7 separate regions of the Homo sapiens genome follow, and all the other regions are linked to region 6. Evidence: promoter capture Hi-C in 16 types of primary human blood cells and fetal thymus (Javierre and others, 2016). All regions are on one chromosome and are shown on one strand. Each heading gives the region's core, a stretch centred on a gene start or on the middle of the fragment in contact. The rest is flanking DNA. Distances are from core to core; before and after follow the strand shown.

The links. Contacts are between HindIII fragments. The CHiCAGO score rates a contact against its expected background, and 5 or more counts as called.
Region 1: a contact is called between a fragment that was not itself captured here and the fragment with the promoter of RBM12B-AS1 in region 6, in 5 of 17 cell types (non-activated CD4 T cells, naive CD4 T cells, total CD8 T cells and 2 more). The highest score is 9.8, in non-activated CD4 T cells.
Region 2: a contact is called between a fragment that was not itself captured here and the fragment with the promoter of RBM12B-AS1 in region 6, in 1 of 17 cell types (naive CD8 T cells). The highest score is 6.5, in naive CD8 T cells.
Region 3: a fragment that was not itself captured here is called in contact with the fragment with the promoter of RBM12B-AS1 in region 6 in 1 of 17 cell types (total CD8 T cells); the score reaches 6.5 in total CD8 T cells.
Region 4: the fragment with the promoter of CCNE2 here is called in contact with the fragment with the promoter of RBM12B-AS1 in region 6 in 8 of 17 cell types (fetal thymus, total CD4 T cells, total B cells and 5 more); the score reaches 11.7 in fetal thymus.
Region 5: a contact is called between the fragment with the promoter of TP53INP1 here and the fragment with the promoter of RBM12B-AS1 in region 6, in 4 of 17 cell types (naive CD4 T cells, total CD8 T cells, non-activated CD4 T cells and 1 more). The highest score is 7.5, in naive CD4 T cells.
Region 7: a contact is called between a fragment that was not itself captured here and the fragment with the promoter of RBM12B-AS1 in region 6, in 1 of 17 cell types (erythroblasts). The highest score is 6.8, in erythroblasts.

Annotation. Positions count from the first base shown.
Region 1 is chr8:95,271,407-95,274,106 of GRCh38, forward strand. All of the region lies in intron 1 of CFAP418-AS1 (CFAP418 antisense RNA 1), which reads left to right. Among named protein-coding and RNA genes, the nearest start is that of TRS-AGA2-5, 3.0 kb to the left of the region's middle. The HindIII fragment of the contact is 4,275 bases long and covers 1-2,700 here.
Region 2 is chr8:95,137,878-95,140,577 of GRCh38, forward strand. The region is part of intron 1 of PLEKHF2 (pleckstrin homology and FYVE domain containing 2); the gene reads left to right. Among named protein-coding and RNA genes, the nearest start is that of PLEKHF2, 5.4 kb to the left of the region's middle. RefSeq lists an enhancer at 1-131. The HindIII fragment of the contact is 4,112 bases long and covers 1-2,700 here.
Region 3 is chr8:95,020,675-95,023,499 of GRCh38, forward strand. It overlaps a transcript of NDUFAF6 not described here. Among named protein-coding and RNA genes, the nearest start is that of NDUFAF6, 2.9 kb to the right of the region's middle. The HindIII fragment of the contact is 1,954 bases long and covers 460-2,413 here.
Region 4 is chr8:94,893,791-94,896,490 of GRCh38, forward strand. CCNE2 (cyclin E2) reads right to left here and starts at 1,411. Exons shown (of 12, transcript NM_057749.3): 1 at 1,387-1,411; 2 at 418-457; 3 at 233-329; 4 at 101-154. The coding sequence starts at 431. It also overlaps a transcript of NDUFAF6 not described here. RefSeq lists an enhancer at 223-784 and silencers at 1,401-1,620, 2,001-2,100, 2,231-2,280, 2,451-2,500. The HindIII fragment of the contact is 5,265 bases long and covers 1-2,700 here.
Region 5 is chr8:94,947,982-94,950,901 of GRCh38, forward strand. TP53INP1 (tumor protein p53 inducible nuclear protein 1) reads right to left here and starts at 1,397. Exons shown (of 4, transcript NM_033285.4): 1 at 1,173-1,397. It also overlaps a transcript of NDUFAF6 not described here. RefSeq lists enhancers at 738-1,366, 1,367-1,996, 1,863-2,032, 2,203-2,252 and silencers at 813-952, 1,173-1,552, 1,633-1,742. The HindIII fragment of the contact is 4,012 bases long and covers 1-2,920 here.
Region 6 is chr8:93,738,680-93,741,486 of GRCh38, forward strand. It overlaps RBM12B-AS1 (RBM12B antisense RNA 1), which reads left to right and starts at 1,432. Exons shown (of 1, transcript NR_027259.1): 1 at 1,432-2,140. It overlaps RBM12B (RNA binding motif protein 12B), which reads right to left and starts at 2,330. Exons shown (of 4, transcript NM_001377960.1): 1 at 2,202-2,330; 2 at 1,950-2,017. It overlaps RBM12B-DT (RBM12B divergent transcript), which reads left to right and starts at 2,404. Exons shown (of 2, transcript NR_183450.1): 1 at 2,404-2,780. RefSeq lists an enhancer at 2,237-2,356. The HindIII fragment of the contact is 1,858 bases long and covers 527-2,384 here.
Region 7 is chr8:92,093,241-92,095,940 of GRCh38, forward strand. The region is part of intron 1 of RUNX1T1 (RUNX1 partner transcriptional co-repressor 1); the gene reads right to left. Among named protein-coding and RNA genes, the nearest start is that of RUNX1T1, 8.8 kb to the right of the region's middle. The HindIII fragment of the contact is 4,219 bases long and covers 1-2,700 here.

The DNA of each region.
Region 1 (2,700 bases), core at 201-2,700, 1.5 Mb after region 6:
ATAGTTAGTGGCCATCCAGTTTAACAGGCTTACATTAATGATTTGATTTTGCTCTTGAGAAGATGAAATCTGAGGGGATCTGTACCAATGTTGAAAGTATCTGTTAGCGGCCGGGCGCGGTGGCTCACGCCTGTAATCCCAGCACTTTGGGAGGCCGAGGCGGGCGGATCACGAGGTCAGGAGATGGAGACCATCCTGGCTAACACGGTGAAACCCCGTCTTTACTAAAAATACAAAAAATTAGCTGAGCGTGGTGGCGGGCGCCTGTACTGGCAGCTACTCGGGAGGTTGAGGCAGGAGAATGGCGTGAACCCGGGAGGCGGAGCTTGCAGTGAGCCAAGATCGCGCCACAGCACTCCAGCTTGGGCCACAGAGCGAGACTCCGTCTCAAAAAAAAAAAAAAAAAAAAAAAAGAATCTATTAGCGTGTAGAAGATTTGCAATGAGAGATGGTGAAAAAATAAAAGAGAAAATGTTTCTGGTTTTCTGTGTTTTGTTTTTTGTGTATATTAGAAAAAAATTAGTGTGTTCCCTCGCTCCCTCACTTCTACTCCCATTTTTCTGGTCTTTTGATTGGATAATTTATTCCGTTTACATTTTAAAATTTCATTTTATTGATTTTATTTACTTTCAGTAGCTTTTGGGGTACAAGCGGTTTTTGGTTACATGGATGAATTGTATAGTGGTGAAGTCTGAAATTTTAGTGCACCTGTCACCCGAGTAGTGTACATTATACCCAAAAGGTAGTGTTCTTTTTTTTTTTTTTTTTTTCCCAGACGGAGTTTTGCTCTTGCTGCCCAGGCTGGAGTGTGCAATGGTTTGATCTCTGCTCACCACAACCTCTGCTTCCTGGGTTCAAGTGATTCTCCTGCCTCAGCCTCCCAAGTAGCTGGGATTACAGGCATGTGCCACCATGCCGGGCTAATTTTGTATTTTTAGTAGAGACAGGGTTTCTCCATGCTGTTCAGGCTGGTCTCGAACTCCTGACCTCAGGTGATCCGCCCGCCTCAGCCTCCCAAAGTGCTGGGATTACAGGCGTGAGCCATCACACCCAGCCTCCAATAGATAGTGTTACTATCCTTTACCCCTCACCCGTCCTCCTCTCTTCTGAGTCTCCAGTGTCCATTATGCCACTCTGTATGCCTTTGTGTACCCATAAATTAACTCCTACTTACGAGTGAGAACATATGATACTTGGTTTTCCATTCCTGCCCACTCCCATTTTAATAAAATGGATGTATGGATCATCCAGAGTTTGGTATTTTGAGAATTTCATTTATGGCTCATTCAACTCTCCGGTGGGTCTCCTGACTTGAGTCATGTTCTCTTTCTGGTTTGCCACCGAGAGTGAAAGGTTGAGTTCAGAGTCTACAAGGAGAAATGCCATATGTCACATAAGAGTAACATATGTGTATGGCTGTGTGATAAACTGTAAAATTACAGTGCACTATTAAAATCTCCAGATGTCAGAAAGAAAGTTATACAGTTAAAAATTCAGTGGGCTCTAAACAATGGATGTGGATGTATAAGATGAAGGTAGTGTGGCTTTAGAAGATTCTACATTCAGGCAAATCCTATTAGATCATTTTTTTTTAAACCGGGCTATAAATTCCTTTGGTATAACTTTCTGTTTAACTAACAATCTTATTTCTTTCTCCATAATTGTTAACGTGTGTAGACAATGTCGTGAATCCTTGTCCCCTGTCTTTCCCAGTCATGGAAAGCATGCTGAGTGTCAGGTATTTCGTAAAGAATAGGCAAGTGCCTCCAGGTGATACAATTATTAACATGGTAAAGGAGACCGGGTGCCGTGGCTCATGCCTGTAATCCCAGTACTTTGGGAGGCCAAGGCGAGCGGATCACTTGAGCCCAGGAGTTTGAGACAGCCCAGGTGACATGGCAAAACGCTGTCTCTAACAAAAAAATTACAAAAATTAGCCAGGCATGGCAGCGCTGCACCTGTGGTCCCAGGTATGTGGTAGACTGAGGTGGGAGGATGGCTTGAGCTCAGGAGGTGGAGGCCGCAGTGAGCCGAGATAGTGCCACTGAACTTTAGCCTGGGTAAGAGAATGAGACTGTCTTAAAAACAAAACAAAAAACATGGTAAAGGGGCATGTCATGTATTATTACATTCACTTAGTATTCAAGGAAGTATTTTAGGTAAAAGGTGTCCAAATTAGGAAACCAAAGCACTGTTGGCTTTCCCAAGAATCTGAAGAACTCTCTGAGCCTGGTTTCTTGCTAGCACCATTATAAATGAGTTAGAGGTGGTGAGGCAGCTGGTTCTGCTGTCCCACGCCGCCTCAGGCCAACTGCTTCAGTTACAAGGTGTTCTGTAATCTCCCTGGCTGCTCACATAATGAATTGCAAGGCTTCTTTGAATTCCCATGTACTTAGGTTTAATTTTCCCTTCCCTGCATCTTTCCCCTGCATACTGCAGGCCTTTTAAACAAATACCCACTGGTGGGCGGTGACATTGGCATGAGGGGAGGCATCCTCCTGGATCAGTTGCAAGCCTCCTAGCAGCTGATGCCATGGAAGAATGGAGTAGCACCGAAGCAGCTCCAGTTCTTTTAAGTGGTCCCTGAATTAGGCCTCGATGTCATGTAGGTAAATTCAGCCCAGAACATGCAGAATCTTTATTGGAATTTGTACATTCATCTCTCACAGCTGTGGAGAGTTTAGACTAATCACAACTCTC
Region 2 (2,700 bases), core at 88-2,587, 1.4 Mb after region 6:
CAAGGGTCTGTTTTCTCTTTCTCTTTTCTGTCATAACTGGTTAAGCAGCTTTTTGTCCTTATTGTCACCTCCAGTCCCTCCTAGGCCATTAGTTGTCTTCCCTCTTTTCAACCTTGAACTCTGTAGTTCATGTTCTAACCATGAACTCACTAGACCACATAGTCCCTCCTCTCCTTGACCTTTGCTGGGTGTAACTGGTCAGTTTTCTACCTTTGTCCCTGCCCTACACTCTCCCCCAAAGTCACGCTTTTGGTGATCATTACATACTTGTTTTCTACCTGCTTTATACTAGTTACTTTCTAATCCTTTTCTTATCCCCAAGTTGACTTATTTTCTCTGTTGCTTTTTCACTCCAGTCAGGTTGCTAACCCCAGTCTCGAAACATGTTGAGCAGATGACCTTACTTCCTTCTAAAATGATTAAGATTTTATGATGTGAATTTTCTATTTTCTTCTTTGCACCAACTTCTTCATCTTCCCCCCCCCCCCGCCCCTTTTTCAGAAGTGGAACTATTTTTAATTCTTTGTACTTGTTTCATTTAAACAACAGTTGGGGAAAAAGAAAGATTTTTGTGTTCTTTGCTCACATTTTTATTACTTGTACATATAACTGTATTTTACTTTTTATACTTATATTTTTCTACACATTCTTCTTTGTATTTTCTTCCCAAACTAAAAGGCTTTGTCTATGAGAGAATGTGTTCATTATAAGATAATTAGGCGTATCAAAATATTATTAGTCTAGTGCTTAGAGATAACCACTACTGACTTTTTGGTGCATATCAGCCACTTTTAAATAACAAGTAGGCTTATACTATATGTGCTATTTAGAAACTTTTATTTAATAAAATGCTTTAACAATATTTCACATTAAATATTGTGTTTTCTAAAAAACTGCCTAAAAATTAATGGATGTGCCATAATTTATTTAGTCTCCTATTGTTAAATATTTAGGTTGTTTCCAGCTTTTCTATATTATAGACAAAGCTACAGTGAACTTCATGTGAACAACTTTGTACACTTTTAATTTTTGTATGTATTATTGGAAATAGAATTGTTGTATAAACTTTCTAAAGCATTTCTATTGCCAAAATGGCATTTAGAAAAGTTGTTCCAGTGTATATACAGTATTGTCAAGAATATAAGGGTCCATTTTTACCACATCTTAGGTGAGTAATATATGAATATCATTTTAATTTTTATTTGATTGGGACTGAGTGTCATTTTTTAAATTTACTGGTCATTTTCATTTTTTTAAAATTGACATTTGTTTCTTATTTTTCTGTTGGGATATTTTCCTCTTTTCTTGTGGATTTACAGGAGCCCTTTGCATATTACAAATGTTGGCCGGGTGCGGTGGCTCACACCTGTAATCCCAGCCCTTTGTGAGGCCAAGATGGGCAGGTCAGATTGCTCGAGTCCAGGAGTTTGAGACCAGCCTGGGCAACATGGCAAAACCCCGTCTCTACAAAATACACAAAAATTAGTTGGGCAGGGTGGCATGCCTATAGTCCCAACTACTCAGGAGGCTGAGGTGGGAGGATCGCTTGAGACTGGGAGGTAGAGGTTGCAGTGAGTTGAGATTGTGCCACTGCACTCCAGCCTGGGTGACAAAGCAAGACCCTGTCCTGTCAATCAATCAATAAATGTTGACCCTTTGCCATATTACTTTAATGTTCTTCCCCCAATTATGAAGTTTTAAAAGTTTAGGTAGTAAATTTTTTCTTTTATGATGGCTTTTTGTGATACATTTAACTATTCCTCAGCTAGAAATTTAGGTTTTATTTTTCACTATTAGAGTTAATGCCAGAGGGAAAACTTTTTATGTGCCACACCCCCTCCACCCCCTTTCTCCAGTTTATTTCTCCAGGTTAAATTTTTGTGGGTAAAAATTTCAGATATTTTATTGTTACACATTGCCATTAGTCCTTGATTTTTTTTTTTTTTTCCCATGTGTCCCACTGCTGATTGTGACCTTTTGGCAGGTTATTTAGTCTCTGAGAGTTGTGAAACATATGAGAGCAGGTTGAAAAGGTGCTTTGTGCTCCTTTGTGTCCCGTTCTTTTTTCCCTTAAATTTTCCTCCTGCTTTCTAAACTAGGGGTTCCCCAAAGTTTAGTCCTCTGCTCTCGTTTTTCTTCCAGCATCAGCCAGCATCTCTAGGTGGGTGACTACCAAATCTCTCTGTCCTGGAGCTCCCTGCCCATCCTGGCATCTCTGTCCCGCAGATGTGTTTGTCTTGTGGATGCCCTGGAGGACTTCAAGATAAACATGTCCCAAACTGATTTCTTCTCTCTCCTAAAACAAAGCTAGCATCTGCCCAGTGGCTTACCCTTAAGCCTTTGAAGTCATCTTACAGTCCTTTTTCATCCATGTGTTCAGTTATTTCCTAAATCCTATCTGCTATGCCTCAGTTATCTGCCAATTATTGTGGTTCAGGCTTTTCTTACCTTTCATTTAGAGATTGTTGTAATCCTCATATGACTGGTTTCTTTGTCTTCAGTCTTGCTTCTTCATATTCTCTTCAGTCCATCCCGTGTACTGCTTCTGTGTCTGATTAATATTTTCCTATTTAAAAACCTTTGTCTTCCCATGGCCTGTGTAATAAAGTGTAAACTCTTCTATCTGATGGTTGCTTTCTTTTGCAGTTTGTCTCATCCCTATCTTACCAGACTTCTTATCACTATGCCTTCTCCTGACCT
Region 3 (2,825 bases), core at 187-2,686, 1.3 Mb after region 6:
ACGATACACTAACACCTCCCAATGCCAGGCACTTGGCCAGGCACTGGAGATAAAAAGAGGAGTAAGAAAACATCTACCTTTGGCAGTCTGGGAAGAGGGCCATATAAGCAGATCACCACAGTAAGACCTGGCAAAGTGATCAAACATGAACACAAATTGTTATAGGATCAAAACTGGGGGAACAACTCTTTTTTTCTTGGATGGGGTTATGGTCAAGGAAAATTCAGGAAGGAAGAGGTGTTTAATTAGGTGTTTGGGGGATGAGTAGAGGTTCATGAAAGGGAAAAAGGGCATTAGAACTTTTGTGGTGACAAGGACAAACTTAGAGCTCTCCTCCTATAACCCCAAATCTCAGGAAAGCCTTGGGTTGCGGCTTACTTTGATTTAGGTCTTGAATCACACCATTTTTGTTGGGTTTGTCTTTCTACATGTCTTTTTGCCTTTGAAGTGATCCAGACAAGCTTAGCAGTGGGGTTTGTAAAAACAGTGTAATAAACATTGCCCATTTGCCAGGACTGTCCTCTGTGTAGCTCTCTTGGGAGTCTGTAGAGGCCGTAGGTGGCTGGTTAAAGGCTGGGGATTTGGGATTATCACCAAATGGCCTCCTTGAAGATACAGCACACAAGGACAATCCAGAAAGAGGGAACAGCATAATCCCACAATATTTTGTTTGCCAAATGGAAATCTCTTTAGTGACAAACATTTAACTTAGCACCAGGTGTGACCTTCAGTTATGCAATAGAATTGTGGATCAGCTAGGATGAAATTTCTTATTTCCCTAGAAGAATGTTTTGTCCAGAAACACTATCCCAAGGCAACAGACTATATTTCCAACTCTGTGAGCCTTTTCCCTTCTTGGCACGTGCTACTGGTTGCTAGACGAATCAGGAGGCAGTATGTGCATAGAACAGCTCCTCACAAGTCACTGTCATTCTAAGAAAAAAACTCAGTATGTGTCCTTTTGGCAGGAAGTCAGAAACATGTTCTCTGGACCATTAAGGGACAGCATCTTTTGTTATAAATGTGTTATATTTGTTCTTTGACCTTTATCTATATCCTTTATAATAAACCAGTAAATATATATAAGTGTTTCCCTGATATCTGGGAGCCATCATAGCAAATTATCAAACCTGAGGAGGAAGGTCCTGAAAATCCTTGATTTGTAGCCAAGTCAAACAAAAGCATGGGTAACCTAAGGACTCACTAATTGCTACTGGTGTCCAAAGTAGGGGGCAGCCTTGTGAGACTGAACTCTGAACCTGTGGATTCTGTCCTAACTGTGTAGTCCTGAAAATGCTTGGTGTGGAAGATCTATACATGTAGTGTCAGAAGGGTTGCATAAGTATAGAAAAATTGTTTTTCCTTTTTAGTAGTGGTTCATCTAAAAAGTATTTAATTGTGGAAAATATAAGGATTGAATAAGGGCATAGTTAATGTGTTATATCTGTTGATAAGATGAACTATAATGCTGTAATTAAAAATGTTTATGAAGGTTCAATATAATAAAAATACCAGTTTTCCATACATTAGGTATAAATTTAACATAGCTGTAATGAAAATACCTTCAGAATTATTTTAATCGAATGGCTGATCCTAAAAGCCAAATGGGAAAATAAACAAGAATGGCCAGGAAGACCGGGGAAGAGAAAAAGAGTAATGAAGAAGGACTAGCCCTACTAGATATCTATGAAAACATATTTTAAAGACGCAATAGTTAAAAGAGTTTACTACTAGAACATTAATAGACAAATGGAACACTATAGACACAAAGTATATGCATGAGTTTATTCTGTGAAAAAGGAAGCATCTCAAATCAAAGGAGGAAAAGGTGGACTACTGAATAAATGATAGTAAGACAACTACTAGATATAAAGAAAAAAGTTAGATTCATACCTTCCTAATCTTTACCCCTCCAAAAAAAAAAAAAAGAAATGTAAAAAAGTGAAATCTACAAGTAGTACGAGAGAAACCAGAAGGACTAGAAGAAAGCAAGGGATTCTTTTAACACATTTAAAATGGGGAAGGCCTTTTTAAAGACTGCAAAATCCAGAAGCCATAAAAGTAAATATTGTAAATTTGACTAGATAAAAATATATTGCAAAATTTCTGCATGGCAAAGATTCCACAAGCAAAGACAAAACTAAAACCTAACTGAGGAAAATAATAATGATCTATATTACAGACAAAGGACTAATCCCCCTCACGTGTCATGGCAGCTAGCTTCCCACAGAGTAAGTGATGAGAGAGAGAGAGAGAGCACCCAAGATGAAATATGGAAGGTGCAGACCTTTTATAACCTAATCGCAGGAGTGACATTGGGTTTTTCTTTCGAATTTTTCTGATTTGTTTCCCTGTGGTGTCGATTTATCTTGTTTCTTGTCTTTTTCTTATAAACTTTAAAATTAGATTTAGAAGCTTAATTAACTTTATGTTAAGCCTTTTTGCCAAGAATATTTCATATGTAGTATATTGAATTTTATGTTTCCTTTTATTAGTGAAGCAACTTTCCCAGAAGCACCACAGTGGACTTGTTCTCAAGTCTAATTGGCCAGATCAGGGAAATATGCACTGTCCTGGACCAGTCACTGGTGATGAAAGGGTAACACCCACCACCGGGGTTCTGCTACTACACAGGATGAAGAAAGGTAATTTCAGAGAGTAAAAACCAAAGTTGCATGAATTGGTTAGAGTTCTTAGGGCCAGAGGACAAGGTGCTTTACCTTGGGTTTAAACAAAAACATTAACTTGGAGTCACAAAGGCAAGTGGCCAGAGTTGAGGCAGAAAGGTAAATTGAGGCCACATCATGGACGGACTGCATATAACA
Region 4 (2,700 bases), core at 161-2,660, 1.2 Mb after region 6:
GTCAGAGGAATCTATCGCAAAGCAATAAACACATAATTCTATTCTTATTCATCTATCCTCCATTTTTCCCCCAAACCCACCCAGCCCAGTTCTGCATTACCCTAATTTCATACTGATGTTTCTTGGTGACCTCCTCTCTTCTTTTTTTGACATCCTGGAAAATAGAAAAGACCATTGGTAAACTAAAGTCCCAGCATGGAATTTCGTTCCTCCCTCTTTCTCCTTAAATCACCTGGGTAGTTTTCCTCTTCTTGGCCTGGATTATCTGGGCTTCTTGGGGGGATTCCGTCTGGCTGGGCTGGGGCTGCTGCTTAGCTTGTAAACGGCTACTGTAGTGAATTTTTAAAAAGGAAGTGTAATTAGTAAGTTAAAGGCAGCAACTAATTTGAAACATGTCTCTAAGACAGATAATGTTACCTTCGTCTTGACATTCTCTTCTTTCAGGTGTATAAAACCTCTGAAGGGGGGAGAGGAAAAGCCGCAGTCAAGTACATTGTCATTCACATTCTCCAAGTGCCAGTAAGACGCTGATTCGCAGGTGAAAGCTCAGTCCCTCCGAAGGGGGCCTGGGCCCTGTGACCCTGCCATCTTCTGTGCTATGTTAGCTAGCTCATGGTAATTCATTTTGGATACAAGCCTGCATTTCCTCAACTGAATGTACAGCTGGAACGCGAGTGTCCAAAAATTTACCAAGCACTCCTGACACCTTGAACGCGCAGGGAGGCACATCTTCCTCAAACGGGTTTTTCTGGGTCCTCCACCCTCTCCCCCGTACACCGGGAGTGGGGCTTGGGCAGCGCCCCCACGTCCCGCCTCCCTCCTGGACCAGCGGGGAGAGGGGGTTGTGGAGGCGAAATGCTGTGGAGAAGCCGGTTCCGCGCCAATTTGGAGAGCGGCGGTGGCGGGGAAGCAGGGGGCGGAGGAACCAAGACTGGTGTCACGGCCTCCAGTCTCCTTTCCCTCCTTCCCGGCCCTGCCGCCCTACCGCCGCTCGGAGGGGCGCCGGGACCCCAACTCCAGATGGGAAGCGGAGGGCGTGGGGGAGGGCAGGAAAAGGAGCTAAAGAAAGGGGAGACTGGGCTGGCTGGGAACTTTTCTCCCCATGGAGGGGACCCGGCCTCCCATCCTCTCTCCCACGGGATAGCTCCCCAAATGAGGGTGGGATAGAGAAGCCCCTAGAATGAGGGGCGGCTCTCCATGCCCAGCCGCTTCCCGGTCCCCTGCCAAGGTTCCTGACAGGGACGGAACGCGGGAACCCATGACCCCCAGTCGTCTAGTTCTCAGCCCTCCCGATTTTCCTCCCTGAGGCTCCCGCCTGTGGTAAGTGATCGGCCCAACTGGGCTTTCTTTCCTCCCACATCCCCCCTACGCGCAGCAACTCCTCACCGCCAGACCAGCTACCGCTCGGCTCAGCTGGCGCCGGCGCCAACCCAATATATAGGCCGGGCCGGTCCCGCCCCGCACGCATGCGCCTCAGACTGACACCTCCGGACAGCGCGCTCCCCTCTCCCGCCCGTCCGCCCGCGTGCCCGCGCGCCGCGCCCTGCTCTCAGTGCGCGCCCGCCACCCGGAGCGGCCGTGGGGTCCACTCTACCGGGCCTTCTGCCCGCGTCCACCGCGCTCCACGGCGCGGCCGGCGGCGGTAGGGAAACTCTCAGGGGCTCCTTCTCCGCGGCTGTTCTCCCCGCCGCCTGGCTCGCGCATCTCCCGCCAGTTTGCTTTTGCTTCCTCCCACTGCAACTCCTGGATTTCGGGGGTGTCAGCCTGCGGCTCAGCCCGGGCGCATAACAGGGGGACACGACTCGGGCGACCATAGGGTGGCTGGGAAGTGACCGTCCAGGGGCGCGCCCTAGCTGTCCCGCCAAGGCCTCAGGGAACCCAGGTCTTTCCTGAGCGACGCGGGGACCCGAGGGCCCGCCCCTCGGGGAGGAGCAAAGCGTTGGCTGAAGAGCTGGCCAATGGGAGGCACGGGCGGCAGCACAACGTGGAGTGGCTGCAGAATGTAAACACCACTCAGCCACGCGCCTGGCCAAGTGCGGCTCTGCTCTCCCCAGTCCCGGTCCGCGACCACCCGGAGCCCGCTCCGCCGGCCTTGCGCGGCGCGCCCAGGGAAGGCATTTCCAGCCCGCCCACCCAGGTATGTATCAACCCTGCTTTCCGGCTCCCTGCTCCCCCTACCGGGTTTCCCTCCCCATGGGTCGGTCGCTCCCCCAACCCGCCGCTCTGCCCCTGCAGTGGCCTCCAGCTGCCACCCCGCAGTCCCCGCGCAGGAAACGCTCGCGCCACGCCGCGCCCTCCCTTGCTTCCTCTCTTCTCCACCTCCAATTCCGGGATCCCAGAGGGTAAAACCCCTCTCCGGAGCGGGGCCCGGGAACGGCATTCCTCCTCCCCCTGAGCGCGGTGGTCCCCGGGGACCTGGCCGGGTGGGAAGAAAGATCGCCACCACGTGCAGGCCCCGGGCCCGCCTGCCGCGCCCCGCCCCGCCGCCGCCGCCAGCGCGCCCTGCGGAGCCCGCGCGAGCCGGCAGCGCGGGAGGGCGCCGTTCGCGCCCGAGCGCTGTTGGGAGGAGGGGGGCCCGACGCTCTTCCTTTATCCTTCCCCGGGTGTTTAAACTTAGGGGTCCCTTCGCTGCCTCTATGAATGCCCCCACAACTGGCGCACCCCAAAACTGCACATCGTCAAGTCAGACTTGCGGCGGGT
Region 5 (2,920 bases), core at 147-2,646, 1.2 Mb after region 6:
TGGGGGAACTCATTATGACTTCTGTTCAGTGACCCCAAGGGTCACATTGTTCCCCCTTTTCCCAAAACTATTGTGCATTGAGAAAAGGCTTTTTTAGCAATAGATGCCCAAGTCCTTGGGAGTCACAGTTGTAAAGAGGCTCTTCCTTAATCCACTCTGTATTGGAATTAACCTACTGAGCAGATATAATCAGAAAATACAAGCAAAACAGACTCTCCAGGTAAAATTCAGCTGCCACTTTGAAATACAAACACCATTTCCTTTTATTAATTGGCTGTGTGGCCTTGAGCAACTTAATCTCTCTGTGCCTCGGGTTTCCTATGTGTAAGATAGCCGGGCCTATTTCATATAAGGTTATTATGAGAATCAACTGGGGCGATAAAGCAAAGCCCCCAGCATAGTATATGGCACATACTCAGCGCTCAGTAAGCGTGAGCGATCCAAAGGATCTAAATGTTAAGGGCCAAGGAGAGCGCTCTTTCCACAGGTGCAAAGTCAGGTAGCGAAGACTGAGTTCAAGCCAGGTCAAGCAAGGGACAGGCCGCGGACAGGCGGGGGCCGGTGGCCGGGTCACGGAGCAGGTTCCCCATAGCCGCAGGGCCTCCGGAACTCGGAGGGCAGGCGCAGGGGACGGGATCGCAGGGCGGGGACAGAGCGCCGGGCCACAAGCCCAAGCGCCGCTGTCTTCGGAGATGCGTCCCGGGGGTGGCCGCGGGAGCCCCGACGCCGAGTCCCGAAGGGGCGGCCCCATCCAACGGCCGAGAGCAGGCGGAGGAGGAGGAGTGGAGGGGAGTGAGGAGGGGTGAGAGGAGGAGGTCCCGCCGCGGCCAAGAAAACAAGCCACGCTCGGGGGAGGAGGCAGAGACCAAACTCCCAACCGCCGCCCAGCGCCGGGGCCAGGCCGGGCCCTTGTCCGCGCCGCCGCCGCCTCTGTCAGCCTCTGTCCGCGCCCTGGGCCCCGGGGGCCGCCGAGGACCGACCCACTGGGTGGGCGGCCGGGCCCGGCGGCGGCGAGGGGAGGCAGCGAGGGGGCTCGGTGAACGCGCAACCGGCGCCCCGAAGGCAGGGCGCGCGGCCGGCCCCGCCGGGCTCAGGAGCGGGCAGCGCTGCGGCCCCAACCGGCAGCGAGGCGGCCCTGGACGGACGCCCGCCCGCCCCCCCCCGGCACTTACGTGGGCCCGGGCCGTGCGGGGCTGCGCGGGGAAGGGAGCGGCCGCCGGCTCGGCGGGGAAGGACGCGGGCGGGGCGGGACTGCTGAGGTAGCTGCGGTGGGGCCGGGCTGCGCTGCACCTCGTTCAGGTACCCAGACGGCAGGCGCGGGGCCGGCTCCAGCCCTCGGGTCGCTGCGCCCAGGCCGGCCAGTCCAAGTCCTTTTGTTGTTGTGCAGCGCTCGCAACAGCTGATCGGCCGCTCCGCTCGCCGTCGGGCCCCGCTGCCCCGCCCCGGGCCGCGCCAGGCCGGGCCCCACCAATCGGCGGTGCGGGGGCCCCGGGGCCGCCCTGCGAGAGGTTGTCACCAACGCACGTGACCTGGCGCCCGGCCGGCGGCGCGCTCAGCTCCGAAACAAGCCCGGGCAACAAAAACCGGGAGCTGAGCGTGAAGGCCTGGGCGAGCGGAAGGGTGGGAGAGAGGGGCTAGGCCGGGGAGGGAAGCGCTGGGGCCGGGGCCGGCTTTCCAGGAGCCGGCGGGAGCGGGGTGCGTAAGAGGCGGGCGAGGAAGAACCGGCGGGCAACGGGAAGGGCAGAGGTGGATCTCTCCCTCAGCGACCCCTCTCGCCGAGTGAAGGGTCGAGGGTTTGGGGCACAAAGGGCGCAGAACGTTTTTTCCTGTGAGAGGAACATTAAGACTCCTGGGAGGGCTGGGGCTAACGCCTCCGAGAGCCCCACCTGGTCAGCCTAGGGTTAGACGTGTAGCCAGGGTGCTGGGAGGGGGCCGCTGCTGGGCCCCAGATAGAGGGGTAGAGGCCGCTCAATCACGGAGCCAGGCCCCACCTGCTGTAGAAACCGCCACCGAGAGCCGGCCGGGCTTGCTGCACGCTCTGGATTCCGCCTGCCTATAGGCGAGGCACAAGGGACTGCGAGACCAGGCCTGAAGGCAGAGAGGTCAGCAGGCTCGGGGGCCTCTGCTCCAGCGGACAACAAGCGCACCGGGCGGGAACGGCCGCCTCCCCAGGCGCTGCAGCCTAGCTCTCATGTGACCCACGGAACTTAGCCCCTCTGTTCTGTTTGCATACCTGCAAATTGTGGGCATTCACGCCGGGACTGCCAACTCACCAGGTTATTTATAGTGACAAGAGAGTGAGACAGTGGGCTTGAAAGTGTTTTCCAGACCAAGGCTCTGTCCCACATATAGGTGGATTAACTGTCTGGCAAAGGCAGGTGAGTAACGTTGATGCCTATCAGCTCTCATGTGGATACTGTTTGGACTGGGATGTAGTTCTTTGACCTGGGGTGAGCTGTATAGCAACCCTGGAGGGATGCCTATCACACATTACAGTATCTGAAAGACACTCACATTCTGACCCTCACAATGTAGTCAGTCCATTTCCAACAATGCTGGTTTTAAAGGATGTAAATTGCAGTGCAGGGAGTTGTCAGACACCAAGGAGTAATGATCAAAATATGATGGTCATTGGACCTTATCTTGGGAGAAAGAGCTAAAACTGTGTTCTAGATAGTCTCACAGACTTGAACATGCTTTGGATTTTAGGTTTTTGCAAATCAGGCTTGTTCTAATATTTTCTCCCACATGCTATGGTAGGAGCCCCATGATCTCTTGTTTCTCCCTAGGAATCCATTGAAGAGGCCATCTCCACATTCAGAACCAAGGTATGATGACAATTACAAGGGGCTAATTTTTAAAAAGAAAAAGGCCTACCTTTTTCCAGTTTGATAAGGTTTATCATGGTTAAAGCAACATG
Region 6 (2,807 bases), core at 182-2,681:
AGGGAACTCATGGGCTCAAGCAATCAGCTCACCTCAGCCTCCCACAGTGCTAGGATTTACAGGTATGAGCCACTGCGCCTGGAGTAATTTACATGTCTTTAATGTACAAATAAATGTTGCGTTAATCCAGAATCCAGTACTTACACTTAAGTACCACTGTTCCCCAAAGTGGGGGTCTGAAGATACATTCACTGAGGTCTGTTTTCCTTTAAAAAAGGGTACGTAGATTAACCAGAAGCTAAACTAGCAAAGACATCAAATTACTTCACACATTCTACATCTGAAAAATATTAATCAGGTTTGCTATTAAAGTATTTGCACAGTAACAAAAAAAGAAAAAAAGCCTATTTTCTTCAACAAACCAATATCCATACTAACACTTCAACAAAAACTACAAATGGCTTCTGGAATACTTACTTTATCCATATTAAAGTCCCAAGACTCCCTCCTATGCAAATTGGCTTAGCTACTCTTTTTAAGATATTTTAGAAAGCACCATAAGCTATACATATTCTTGTCTCTCCTAAGCTTTTAAAAAAATTTTAACGGGATTTACCCTGGGAACATAAATTCATCTACAAGAGAAATTAGAGACGTTTCAAGGAATAATTATATCTCAAATTCAAAAAAACTCTAGTAATTTATCCTACCTCACTTAAAAACTATCTTTTAACCAAGTAGTTTCATGAGCACAAATCTCATGAATTCCAATTCAAGCAGACTATTTAGAAAGTTTATTCTCATTTGCCACAGTTAAACAAAACTAATGCTTAAACTTCTCTACCCTTGAGACAGTAGGGTAATGTACCATTTATGCCTCTACAATAACACACCTTGGAGACCAACTGTAAGAGACCAGCTCTCAAAATGGGCACTTCTGTGGTTCCAACATGCTATATTTCCTTAAGCAAATTCTCCAGAAATTCAACTCTTAACACACTAAATTACACAAAAGCAAAACACGAAAATTACCCTCAAGTAGTCTGCAATTAAAATTTTGCGTTTTTCTAGTTATGAATGCAAAAAGTATTTTTGTGCCTTTGTGTTCATTTGAAGACAATAATCTGTTAAAATTTCTATGAAAAGAAGAGTGGGTCCCTAAAAGATCACTTAAGTCAGTGAAATTTAAAGCGCATTTTAAATAACTGCTATTTTTATCCAACGATTCATCCCACTTAATCACCATTATAACTAAACAATACGTAACGTGCCTCTTCTAATCAAGACTTAAGGGGATACAGAGAGGGAAACGGGAGGGAGACAGAATTTAAATAAGTAATATCTCATCAGATCCATTTGATTTTTAACTAGCGAAGAAAAAGTCATTTTCCAGATATGGTGAGGGAGAGAATTTTTTTTAACTCTGCGACTACTTCGTAAAGCCCAAGGTCATGATGTAGCATATTCACACTCTAAACGTGAGTTTCCCCTGCAGAAAATAATCTACACCAACCCATAATTATTCTTTACGATGATCCACCTTTTATAATGTAGATGTTTAAAATAAAAACCAAAGGAATGACCAATGAGAGCCACAGTCCCTAGGAAGAACTGTAAATGAAGACGAATCCACATGGCACAGGATTTCTCCCAACATCCTCAAACGGGAATCATCCGAAGGCATCGATTCTACAGCCCAAAGCCTTTGTCCACAACTCCCAGGGGTCAGAGCTTCCTTCTTTCGCGCCAGGCCAAAGTTGCTACGTGGGATCCGATGTTGTCGCCAGACTTTCAGCCAAAATCAGCCTTCAAATTAACCTGGACCGCCCAACCTCCGTGCCTTTCCGTTACGCCGTCTCAAGGGCAAACATTCCACCCTAACTCGCCAGAGGGTGAACTGCCCCCAGATCTAACTGAAAACACTTGCCCTTCTCAAGCCTAACGAGCTGGGCCTGCAGCGCTTTTCTGCCACCACTGACTACGATGACATAGCAAAGAAAAAAATATACCTATGAAATCCTTCGAGATCTTCACTCTCAAGATCCCTGGGAAGCGCACATACACCACCACATGGAAGCTGACGGGAAAGGAAGAGTCGGTGTTTTAGCAAGAAAAGAGGGTGCCCTAACGGCAGGAGCTACGCTAGATACTGGCGCGGCCGCCGGTCCCGCCTTTCCCCGTTCTTCCGGCTTGGTCGCCCAGCCCTCCCCACCCCCGGCGCCCCGAGGGGAACTGCTTCGCACTTGGCAATAAACACACACCACTGCTGCCGAGTCGGACACACAAGGCCGGAGGCTGAGGGAACTCTTCGTCGCAGCAGCCTCCCCAAAACAGGTAGACCCTCAGTGAGCCCAGAAGAAGATGGCGCCCACTGCCCCTCCGGTCCGGACAAACGGACGTACGGTTTATCTGCCCATGCGCTCTGCAGGCGCAACCCACCACCAAGCTTGCGCACGCGCGCTGCCGCTCACCCGTTTCCCCTCGCTAGAGGAGGGGAGGCGGAGCCCCGGGGTTGGCTGAGCTTCTGCGCATGCCCAGATTCTGCCCAGCCCAGGGACCTCGACTTTCAACGGGAGAAATTCAGAGACACATTCAGGGCTCAGCCGGTAGATGTGCTGAGAATCTTCGGTAGACAACTGTCGAAGTACGGCGGACAAACTTTAAAGATTTCCAGAAGTTAAGGAAAGAGATGCAAAAGCAGAGAAAAGGCGACTTGTCTTTTCAGTGTTGCATTACTGTGTGGCGTAAAACATCTTCTAAAAAGCTCCTGTGGCCGGGCACGGTGGCTCACGTCTGTAATCCCAGCACTTTGGGAGGCCGAAGCGGGCGAATCACTTGAGGTCAGTAGTTCGAGACCAGCCCGCCCA
Region 7 (2,700 bases), core at 20-2,519, 1.6 Mb before region 6:
GTCATAGTCAAAATAGATTTATATTTTCATAAATTTCTTTAACATAAAAATATGTTAAGTCCCTTCTGGTTTTTTTTTTCATATTCACTCTCTGTATGGTTCAAATTTCTTTGACTCAATGTCTGCCTAATGCTTAGTTTTGTTATTTAAAGACTATGCAAAATGTGTGAAAGGGTAAATTACACCAAGATAACAAATACTTAGTATTTCTCTGCCTTTGCTTGAAATACACATATTAATCTATATAAGTTATTGTCTATGCATGCACTTGAGTGTAAAATACATACATCTCACTTTGTATTGAACCCATTATCGCTTCTCGGCCTTTTGGCTAAGATCAAGTGTATTCCACCCACTAAAAGAAAACTGGAAACAAAAAGTCAGAGTCAGGCCCTATTTTTGAAGGGAACTTACACATTATTTTATGAGATATAGATTTAGCAGGTGCCTGGCTGTTTCAGTACCCGACTGGAAAAGAATGAATGTCACTCATGCAACAAACTGGTCACCTAAATAGTGACTGACCACTCACTGTAAATAACTCCAGGTAAAGGTAAATCTTGAAAATGGATATCCTTCTATATAAAATATGCAAGATCTATGGCTAGCATGCTTTTCATATTTTTAAACGTGCTCCACCTATTTCTCTGTAACATCCAATTCGGGGTAGAATTAAAGATGTTCCTAAGACATGCTATCTGCTAGTTTCTTAGCCAAAAGAGCTCTACCCTTTCTGAAAGATTCCAGGCTGTCCTTTTCCATTCTGTCTGGGTGATAAGGTAACCTGAAGGCAGAAATGACATACAGTAATATATGTGCCACTCTGGCCAGTTGGTCTGTGAATTTCAGTGTTTCATCATGCTCACTGAGGCAACAGCAAACCTGAAATGTCAATATGTTCAGTCAATGGAAGTAAAATAATGGGACTCTATTGTCTTACCCAATCGATCTGCTGCTGTCAACAAGGAAACATGCCCCCCTGGCTTTAAACAAATTTTAATTAGGCTTTTAGTTACTGGATCATATCTATCTATCTATGAAAACACCTATTTTGACAATGTGTAGAAGGCAAAACAACCATCTTTTCCACTTTTCTTCATTTTAAGAACCTTCTAAAGTTGATATTACAATGTTTCAAATACTTGTGAGTCAATAAGACATGTTTTCTCCTTTTTTTAAACTAGCTCCAACCAAAAGATTTCATGGTTCAAATCCAAAATACAAATCTACCTAACAGACTTGTAGTGATTTTTTTTTCTCCTCTAGGCTGAGTTGAGCCATACTATAAAGTCAACTAATTCCATATTAAAAGTAGGCTTCATTTGCTTTTCTTACTCATTCAAGTACCGTCAGCATCAATTTATCACGCATTTAAAACAAGTCACACAAAACCAAACATTAATGATCAATCCCAAAGCCTTTACCCTCTTTTCTCAGTTCATCAATCCTAAATGCAAGGGGTAAACGAAACTCCTGTTAAATCAGGGAGGTGCATGGTGCTGAGAAGGGTAGGGGGTTGTCGGGAGAGGAAATAAGACATTTTAAGTCATTCAAATTGCACCAAAGTTCTCTAGCCCTTCCTTCCACCAAAAGAGAGACAGTCTCACCTTAAAATAAAAATGAACTAATCAAGTTGTTAAGCAGCTTTGTCTCTCCCTTCTTCATCTAAAGGCTTCAGCGTCCAGTCAATAAATAATCTATTGTTCCCCCTTTATCGAGTCTCTTTAAACCTATTCAGACTGGCAAAACTAAACCCAATTAAAGATAAGGCCCTCCGGTATTCTCACCTCGGTGAGTCCTGTCTGGATAGCAGAGGTGATGGGAGATAGCGTCAAGGCCAGGGGTAGATGCCTCCTCCTCACCCCACACAACAAAAGGCAGATTTCTCTTTCTCACTCTGCTAATCTTTAAATGTAAATTCTCTCCGCCAGCTAAGAGGAGCGACAGATAACATGTTACATCTTCACTTCTCCTGGTCTTATCGACTTCTGAATCATTTGGAAAGGGAGAGAGGGAGAGAGAAAAGCCGCCTCCCCACGCCCCCCTTCCTCCTGGCCACCCCTCCTTCCTCCCTGCTCGCCTCCCTCCCCTGTTCACGGAGATTACCTTCTGGCAAAGGAGCGCGGGAGAGCGGCCGCGGCCGAGGCGGCACCCAGACCGCGGCTTTGTATTCATTAAACACACATTGGAGCTTATCAGAAGTAAAAGCCTTGTCAGGATGGCACATTGTGTGTGAGTGAGTGTGTGAGCGCAGGAGGGAGAGGAGAGAAGCCAACGTGCATCAGGGTGATTACAATATCAGCAGGGCCCAGATGGAGGCAGGAAAATAAACAGAGGGTGCGTGTGAGACGGAGCGGGAGAGGGAGGAAAAGTGGGAGAGAGAGAGAGAAGACAGAAAGGGACAGGCAGGAGGGAAGGAGAGACACAGGCAGGAGGGAAGGAGGGATGGAGGAGGGGGCGGGGGCTCAGACCCCAGGATGGGGCCAGAAAGTGGGGGAGAGCTACCCTAAGGCTATCTGGGAATGAGAGGCAGGCTAGAAGTCGCCTGCATGCCCAAATCTGCCCCTACCACCCAAAGAAGGGAGGAATCCAGCAAACTGTATTTCCCTGCTCCAGGGCTAGGCTGGAACATGTTCGAGATTCTGTCAAGGTCAGAGGAGGATCAAGAGCTCTCTTTTGGCAGAGCCTAAGGAGACAGTC